Regions from separate parts of the Homo sapiens genome. Here all the other regions are linked to region 3. The links are contacts of gene promoters, found by promoter capture Hi-C in blood cells and fetal thymus (Javierre and others, 2016). All regions are on one chromosome and are shown on one strand. Each heading gives the region's core, a stretch centred on a gene start or on the middle of the fragment in contact. The rest is flanking DNA. Distances are from core to core; before and after follow the strand shown. Region 1 has its middle 5.9 kb from the start of ZNF662. Region 2 has its middle 4.5 kb from the start of CYP8B1. Region 3 holds the start of CCDC13 (coiled-coil domain containing 13).

Region 1 (2,700 bases), core at 143-2,642, 130 kb after region 3:
CTCCTGATGTCCAACAAATAAGCCCCTTACTGGACATAAAAGTGCCACAATGGCTCACTGACAACAGATTGCTAAAGTATCAAGTGTTGTTAGAAATCCCACAGGTAACAGTTGAGTGGTGCTCCACCCTCATCCCAGCCTCCTTACTGCCATTACCAGGAGAGGATGACTCAACACATTCATGTTGTGAGATACTTAACCAAATTTATGCCAGATGGGAAGACTTAAAGGATCAGCCCTTGGACAATCTGGTCAAAATATGGTTTTCAGATGGGAGCAGTTTTGTTCAGAATGAAACTATATATGCAGGGTACACAGAGGCTAAAGCTCTATCCTTGGGGACCTCAGGACAACTAGCAAAACTCATCTTTTAACCACAGGCCTAACACTAGGGGAAGGGAAAAGAATAACCATTTATACAGATTCCAAATATGCCTTTTTGGTGCTTCATGCCCAAGCCACTATCTGGAAGGAAAGGGAGTACCCAGCAACTTGGGATACTCCTACTAAGTAGGGGCCCCAAATCTTAGAGCTACTAGAGGCCATTCACTTGACCCAGGAGGTGGCAGTAGAGAGGGTTCTGGAAATGGCAGGCACTCATTGGGTAATGGTCAAGCTATCATAAAACTGTCCCTCTGAAATGAGAAGTGGCCATGACTGGGACCAAGACAGAGAGGAGTTCTGCAACAGATAGAAAACATCTGGAGCCAGCAAATCACAATTCCCTGATCAGGTTTTTGTTTGTTTTTGTTTTGTTTTGTTTTGTTTGGGGTGGAGTCTCACTCTGTCACCCAGGCTGGAGTACAGTGGCACGACCTCGGCTCACTGCAACCTCTGCCTCCCGGATTCAAGTGATTCTCCTGCCTCAGCCTCCCCAGTAGCTGAGATTACAGGCACCTGCCACCACACCTGGCTAATTTTTTAAAATTTTTAGTAGAGACAAGGTTTTGCCATGTTGGCCAGGCTGGTCTTGAACTCCTGACCTCAAATGATCCACCTGCCTTGGCCTCCCAAAGTGCTGGGCGTGAGCCACCGTGCCCAGCCCCTGATCTGGTCTTAAGCATGGGGCAAAAGTAGGGGGGGAAATGGTGGTGTTTGACTGGTATATGACCTTCCTCTGGAGGTGATCAACCAGTAAGGGAAAATCGCTCCAAGTGAGCATGCACACAACCTCAGTAAACACACTGTGCATGTGGCTTCTCCCAAGTACTAGCAGGCCACTGCACATGTCACAACTGAGCAACAGCCCACCCCAATGGAGGGATCAAGGGAGGAGAAGAAAAACCCCGGAACCAAAAGCCAGTTTATAAAAATCCTGAGCCAAAGGCTGAGGGGGGCACTTGATCTCTCAAGTTCCCTACTTGGCCCTCTTCCAAGTGTGATTTGCTTCTTTTAATAAACCTTTGCCTCTGCTTTAAAATTTGCCTCGGTCTTTCAGTTGAAATCTTTCCTCTGAGAAGACAAGGGTTGGGATCAGTGCGGATTCGCCACTGTTTGCAGACTCACTGTCAGTAACACTTTCACAAGGTTCAGGAGTGGGAGAAGGCCCTGACTGCAAGAGACATAAGCACATAATTAATTATTCTCTATTTTTTCCCCTCCTATGCTTAACCCTGGGAAACTGAACTACTGCAGTTTGACAGTAGGAAATAAGAGCCAGGGGGCGGGAGACTGACACCGTGTGTGTGTGTGTGTGTGTGTGTGTGTGTGTTGCCACCCAGCTGTGCTAATTGGATTTGGGCAATTATAGATAATGATTATAGTGATCATAAATCATAAATATGAGAAGGCAACTCCTAAGGTGGTCTTGGCATGGCTCACATTTCAGAGGGTAGGAGACATTCTAGGATGCTACAAATTATGTAAGAAAGGAACTACTGAACTAACTAGAGATGAGTCTGAGTGTATGGTGTGGGTAAGACACAGGAGAGTTGGGAAATAGGTGGAGTGATTGTTGCAGAGACTAGTCACATTGATCACGTAGCTGTGGAATGAGAGGAACGACAACCCTGATTGGTAAGAAGAGAACATCTTAGACTCTGGGTTGTCAGGGCAGAGGTGAACCGCCCAACAGGTTCTCCTTGCCTGCTGCCTAGACACAGCTGATTTATCAAGACATGGTAGTTGTAATAAAGAAAGGGTTTAATTCATAAAGAGCCAGCATATGGAAAACTGGGGTTTTTATTATTACTCAAATTACCCTGAAAACTTGGGGGTTGGGGTTTTAAGGATAATTTGGTGGGTAGGCGGTTGGAAAGTGGAGAGTCCTGATTGGCCGGGTCACAGATAAAATCATAGGGAGTTGAAGCTGTCCTCTTGTGTTGAGTCAGTTCCTGGGTGGGGGCCACAATACCAGATGGGCCAGTTTACCAGTCTGGGTGGTGCCAGCTGATCCACTGCGTGCAGGTTCTGCAAAACATCTCAAGCACTGATCTTAGGTTTTATAAGAGTGATATTATCCCCAGGAACAATTTGGGGAGGTTTAGAATCTTCCAGCCTCCAGCTGCATGACTCTTAAACCATAATTTCTAATCTTGTGGCTAATTTTTTAGTCCTGCAAGGGCAGTCTAGTCTCCAGGCAGGAAGGGGGTTTGTTTGGGAAAGGGCTGATACCATCTTTGTTTCAAAGTTAAATTATAAACTAAGTTCCTCCCAAAGTTAGTTTGGCCTGTGCCCAGGAATGAACAATGACAGCTTGGA
Region 2 (2,700 bases), core at 198-2,697, 110 kb after region 3:
GCCCAGAGCTTGGAGCCCAGCCTGGGTAACATGGTGAAACCCTGTCTCTACAAAAATTAGCCAGGTATGGTGGTGCATGCCTGTGGTCCCAGCTACTTGGGAGGCTGAGGTGGGAGGATCACCTGAGCCTGGGAGGTTGAGGCTGCAGTGAGCCAAGATCATGTCACTGTACTTCAGCCTGGACGACAGAGTGAGACCCTGTCTCAAAACAAACAAAACAAAGCCTGGATGGCAGCTCATCTGTTTGCAGCATGGTTTACTTAGGCCCACTGCTGAGACTTACTGCTCACAAAAAAGATTCTTTTCAATGTATTACTACTCATTAACAATGCACCTGAGATCTCTGAGGAAGATGTTCGAAGAGATGAATGTTGTTTTCATGCCTGCTAACACAACATCCATTCTGCAACCCATGGATCAAGGAGTAATTTCAACTTTTCAGTCTTAGTATTCAGAAATACATTTCGTAAGGCTATAGCTGCTGTAGATGGCGATTCCTCTAATGGATCTGGGCAAAGTAAATTGAAAACCTTATGGAAAGAACTCACCATTTTAGAGCCACTAAGAACAATTGTGATTCATGGGAGGAGGTTAACATATCAACATGAACAAGAGTTTGAAAGAAGTTGATTCCAACCCTCATGAATGACTTTGAGGGGTTCAAGGCTTCAGTGGAGGAAGTCGCTGCAGATGGGTGGAAATAGAGAATTAGAATTAGAAGTAGTGCCAGAGGATGTGACTGAATTGCTGCAATCGCCTGATTGAACTTGAATGGATGAGGAGTAACTTCTTACGGATGAGCTAAGAAAGTGGTTTCTTGAGATGGAAACTAATCCTGGCGAGGATGCTGGGAACACTGTTGAAATGACAATAAAGAATTTAGAATATTACATAAAGTTAGTAAAGCAGCAGTAGAGTTTGAGAGCATTGACTCCAATTTTGAAAAAAAGTTCTATTGTGGGTAAAATGCTATCAAACAGCATTCCATGCTACAGAGAAATCTTTCCTAAAAGGAAGAGTCAACTGGTGCGGCAACCTTGATTGTTGTCTTATTTTAAGAAATTGTCACAGCCACCCCAGCCCTCAGCAACCACCACCCTGATCAGTCCAGGGTGAAGACAGGAATCACTGAAGGCTCAGATGATCATTAGCATTTTTTAGCAATAAAGTTTTTTTTAAAAATTAAGGTATATATATGTATTTTAGATATAATGCTTTTGCACACTTAATGGTGTATAGTCTAAACATAATTTTTATATTCCCCGGAAACAAAATTCGTGCGACTCATTTTACTATGGAGGTTTGAAACCCAACCCGCAATATCTTCGCGGTATGGCTGTAATTGTGACAAATGCTGCAAAGAAGAGCAGAGCATGAAGGGAGGTGGCAGTCAGGAAGGCCACACTGATTGGGCCACACTGATTCAGCGGAGGCCTGGAGGACCACAAGACCCAGTCAATGTGTGTTGTGTGTGGTGGAGGTGCTAGCGGCCGAAGAGGGGTGCTGGTCAGGGGATGCAGCAGGGTGGTCCCAAGGTACCGAGAGCATATCCACCCTGGGGCCAATGAGCCCAGGGCACTCGGAGAAGGGGGAAGAATCTCCACAGGGTGCAGAACCGGCAGGCTCTGTGCGGGTTAGGACTTTGACACATCGGTGGCACTGAACCCCTCTCACGCCAGCCGGCCCAGCCACGCTTGTGTCCGGGGCCAGCCCACGGGGGCCACGCAGGGCTGCCGGATGGACAGGCAGGGAATACGGGCTCTTCCTCGGGAGGAGACTGGCTTGCCCCTGGGAAGTCAGCCCACGGGACTGCCCTCCTCTCCCTCCCGAGGGGCTGGGGACCAGCAACTCAAGCCAACACCGGGAGCGGGCGGCACGTCCCCTCCTCGCCCCTTCGGTCCGGGAACTGTCAGGGGCCGGGGCGGGGTTACGATGGTGGGCTAGGGGGCCAGGTAGGACCAAAGACACACGGAGGCGGCCTCCGGGACAGCCAGAGGGCCCGCGGGCGCTCGGGAAAGGGGCGGGTGCACTTCCGGCCCCCGAAGCCTCAGCGAGGGAGTCTCCGGGAGGCGCGGCGGGGAGTAGGCAGTGTGTTGCTGACCTCTGGCGGTCGCTCTGCGGCACTTCGCACCTTCTTTGTGCTCAGGAGCGGTGAGTGTCAGTTCGGCGGCTGAGCCCCCAGTAAGGGCGTGGTTCCGGGCCAACGGGAGGACGTGCTGATGGCGCTGCTTTCTTCCTTCCCCACCGCAGCTGTTTCCGACTCGCGCGCTGAACCCACCACTACCCCTCGGCCCACGCCCCTGGCAGTTTTCACGGCATAAGCCCGGCAAGAGCATCATTTTGGTTGTCCTGGGGGGTTTTGGGGGTTAGCTCCTTTATTGCTAACCTCATTTGCACATTCCATGGTGGGCAGGACAGTGGATTGAGTTTTTTACACTGGGCCCTAGTAGTTCCATGTTCCTGTCTGATGTCATGACTTCTCATTCTATATATGGCCCAGAATTTTGAGCAACTGGGCACTGACCTGAGGATTCTATTTATCTGCTGTGGTTCCTTTACTGGGGTTCTCCGCTGTGGGTTCTCTAGTCCGGATGCACTAGCTCTTCCCTGAGTCTTGTTTGCCCCTTTTTCTAATTCTGGATGATATTGACTGCTCCCCCAGTATGTGCCACCTCTTGCTCACTGCCTCGCCCCCAGCAG
Region 3 (2,785 bases), core at 27-2,526:
AAAGTAAAGGCTAAGCCGGGCGTGGTGGCTCATGCGTGTAATCCCAAAACTTTGGGAGGCTGAGGTGGGTGGATCACCTGAGGTCAGGAGTTTGAGACCAGCCTGGCCAACATGGTGAAACCCCATCTCTACTAAAAATACCAAAATTAGCCAGGCATGGTGGCGGGCGCCTGTAATCCCAGCTACTCGAGCCCAAGGCAGGAGAATCGCTTGAACCTGGGAGGCAGAGGTTGCAATGAGCCAAGATCGCGCTACTGCACTCCAGCCTGGGCGATAGAGCGAGACTCCGTCAAAAAAAAAAAAAAAAAAAAAAAGTAATAATAAAAAAAATAAAGTAAAGGCTAGAGCTGCATGGAAAGAACTCTTGGCTCAGGTAGGACTTAGAGCCAGGGAGTAGGAAGAGTGGCATGCACTCTGGAGTCCTATGAGGAAGCAAGATCCCACAGGATATGGGACCATAGGTGACAGGGACCAGTGAGGAAGGATTGAGACCCCTTGCCCCATCGGCCTGCCACTTTTTTCATTGTTTTTCTCTTCCCCTCTCCTTCTCTTTCTTCTTTTCTTTTACTGTGTTCTTTTCGAGTATTCTCAACAACAGTCTAGGGGCCTGGAGGTGTGGGGAGGCCGCCCACGGATGCCTAGTTTGGCGCTCTGTGCACTGCTAGCATCTTCGTAGGGATGGGTTTGGGATGGGAGCGGGGTGATGCTCTGGTTCTCAGGGCTGGACTCCGGGCTTGGAGGGGAACTCCCTCTTGCGAGTCCCCAGTCCTGTGGGGGCTGGGCCTGGAAGGGGAACTGGGAGATGCGGAAGTGCACGCCGTCGGGTCGCATCTTTCAGTGCGGTGCGAGAGGGCCCAGTGGCAGAGGCCCAGCAAACAGCGCTTGTCAGGCGGACCTGAGTTCGAGTTCTGACTGTGCCATCTACGCTATGACTTTGGGGCAGGCGACCCACCCTCTGCGCCTCATTAACCCATGTACTGCATGGAAAATAAGCGTCTGCCTGGGTTAGAAGAGGGCTGTGTGTGAAGATTCAAAGGACGAAGGGGAAGAGTCCTCGCTGGGCGCCCAGCACGCGGTGAGCGCCCGGCCAGTGGCAGCGCGCTCGGGCTGGGGTTGCGCTCGGGCTCGGTTCCGCGCCCCCGGCAGCTGCGGGCTTTCCCAGCTCCGGCCCGGGCCCTTCCGCTCTCCCCGGCACTTACAGCGGTCTCTCTCCACTTCTCCCTTCTAGGACCGCGGCGGCTAGGTCACCTCCTCCGGACGCCGACACGCGCTGCCCTGGCAACCGTCACCAGGGAAACAAGCGACGTCACTTGCGCGTTTTCAACGCTACTCTACGGGGGCCGAGGGGGCGCCAAGAGTTCTGAAAGTGACAGAGGCGCTGATGGCGCGCTGGGCTGGATCCAAGCGAGCACGATCTCGAGTGCGCTGGAGATTTTAAATCTTCTGGAGTATATTTTTAAAAAAGTTTTGTGGACCAAACGTTCTGCACAGAGATGCCCATTCCGCTCTCCTGTTGGGGAGTTAAAAAGCGAACGATCTCACCATGAAATTTAAAGTAGCCATTCAGATATATTTGAAAAATGTAAAACAGTGTGGGGAAAGGCCATGTTATGATGGTGAGTGAAGGAAGCAGGACGCAATATAGCAATGCTAAATAAATAAAGTTGTGTTTATTTCAAACTAGGCACTAAAACAAGACCGAAATAGAAATATTAAAAGTGGTTATATTTGGGTGGTGGAATAGCAGTGCTGTGTTTTTATTTTTACACTTTAGAGAATTTTTAAAATAATGAACATCGTTTATTTTCATAAAGGAAAATACTTGTTTTTTTTTTTTTAAATGGCACCTTCCAATGTAAGACACTACTATATTTCAGGGCAATATGGGGGTGGGAGGCAAATTTCTAGGAAAGATGATTCAAGGGAGATTTCTTTCTATCTATCTATCTATCTAATCTATCTATCTATCTATGATAGAGTCTCGCTGTGTCGCCCAGGCTGGAGTGCAGTGGTGCGATCTCAGCTCATTGCAACCTCCATTTCCCAGGTTCAAGCGATTCTCCTGCCTCAGCCTCCTGAGTAGCTGGGATTACAGGCACCCGCCACCACACCTGGCTAATTTTTTTATTTTTAGTGGAGACGGGGTTTCACCATGTTGACCAGGCTGGTCTTGAACTCCTGACCTCAGGTGATCCGCCCACCTTGGCCTCCTAAAGTGCCGGGATTACAGGCGTGAGCCACAGCTCCTGCCCAAATATTTATCCAGGACTTCATAATTTGAAAACCTTGGCAGTTGTTTTTCTATTTTTTTTCCTCATAAGGTGAATGAATACCCATCCCATAGACATGCATACATAAGATACGGCACTAGACTGCCATCAGCACTGCAGGTATAAACCCGAAGTTTCCTGATAAAGGAAAAATGGATCTTTCCCGTTGGTCTCCAATTGCTGCCTGGTGAGCTGAGGGTGGGAGACGTATAATATACAGGTGGCAGCAAAGAGAGACAGGATAAAGAGTAGGATTCAGGTAGATGTGAGCCTCAAAGGATTAGGGTTTTTTTTAAATGGTGTGTGTAGTGGGGAGTATCATTCGTTTGCCTCATGACCACGATGGGACTATGTGGCATAGGAAAAGGAATAGCCAGGTCTACTTAGAGGGCTTCTGGAAAGCATGGATCCTAGCAGAAAGCCAGGTTTTCATTAAAATAAGAACATGCTGTGAGAAAATTAAGGATGCAAGAGAATTTCAGAACCGACATTCTAGAATGTATGTATTAGAAAGT

What was found. The method cuts DNA at HindIII sites, captures the fragments that hold promoters and counts their contacts. A CHiCAGO score of 5 or more calls a contact.
Region 1: a contact is called between a fragment that was not itself captured here and the fragment with the promoter of CCDC13 in region 3, in 1 of 17 cell types (erythroblasts). The highest score is 5.9, in erythroblasts.
Region 2: a contact is called between a fragment that was not itself captured here and the fragment with the promoter of CCDC13 in region 3, in 15 of 17 cell types (erythroblasts, total B cells, megakaryocytes and 12 more). The highest score is 16.8, in erythroblasts.

What each region holds. Positions count from the first base shown.
Region 1 is chr3:42,898,917-42,901,616 of GRCh38, forward strand. No RefSeq gene overlaps it. Among named protein-coding and RNA genes, the nearest start is that of ZNF662, 5.9 kb to the right of the region's middle. The HindIII fragment of the contact is 8,974 bases long and covers 1-2,700 here.
Region 2 is chr3:42,879,055-42,881,754 of GRCh38, forward strand. No RefSeq gene overlaps it. Among named protein-coding and RNA genes, the nearest start is that of CYP8B1, 4.5 kb to the left of the region's middle. RefSeq lists an enhancer at 1,923-2,217 and a silencer at 2,256-2,305. The HindIII fragment of the contact is 4,409 bases long and covers 1-2,700 here.
Region 3 is chr3:42,771,977-42,774,761 of GRCh38, forward strand. CCDC13 (coiled-coil domain containing 13) reads right to left here and starts at 1,277. Exons shown (of 16, transcript NM_144719.4): 1 at 1,200-1,277. CCDC13-AS2 (CCDC13 antisense RNA 2) reads left to right here. Exons shown (of 2, transcript NR_122070.1): 2 at 1,229-1,659. RefSeq lists a silencer at 998-1,157 and an enhancer at 1,288-1,457. The HindIII fragment of the contact is 4,325 bases long and covers 1-2,785 here.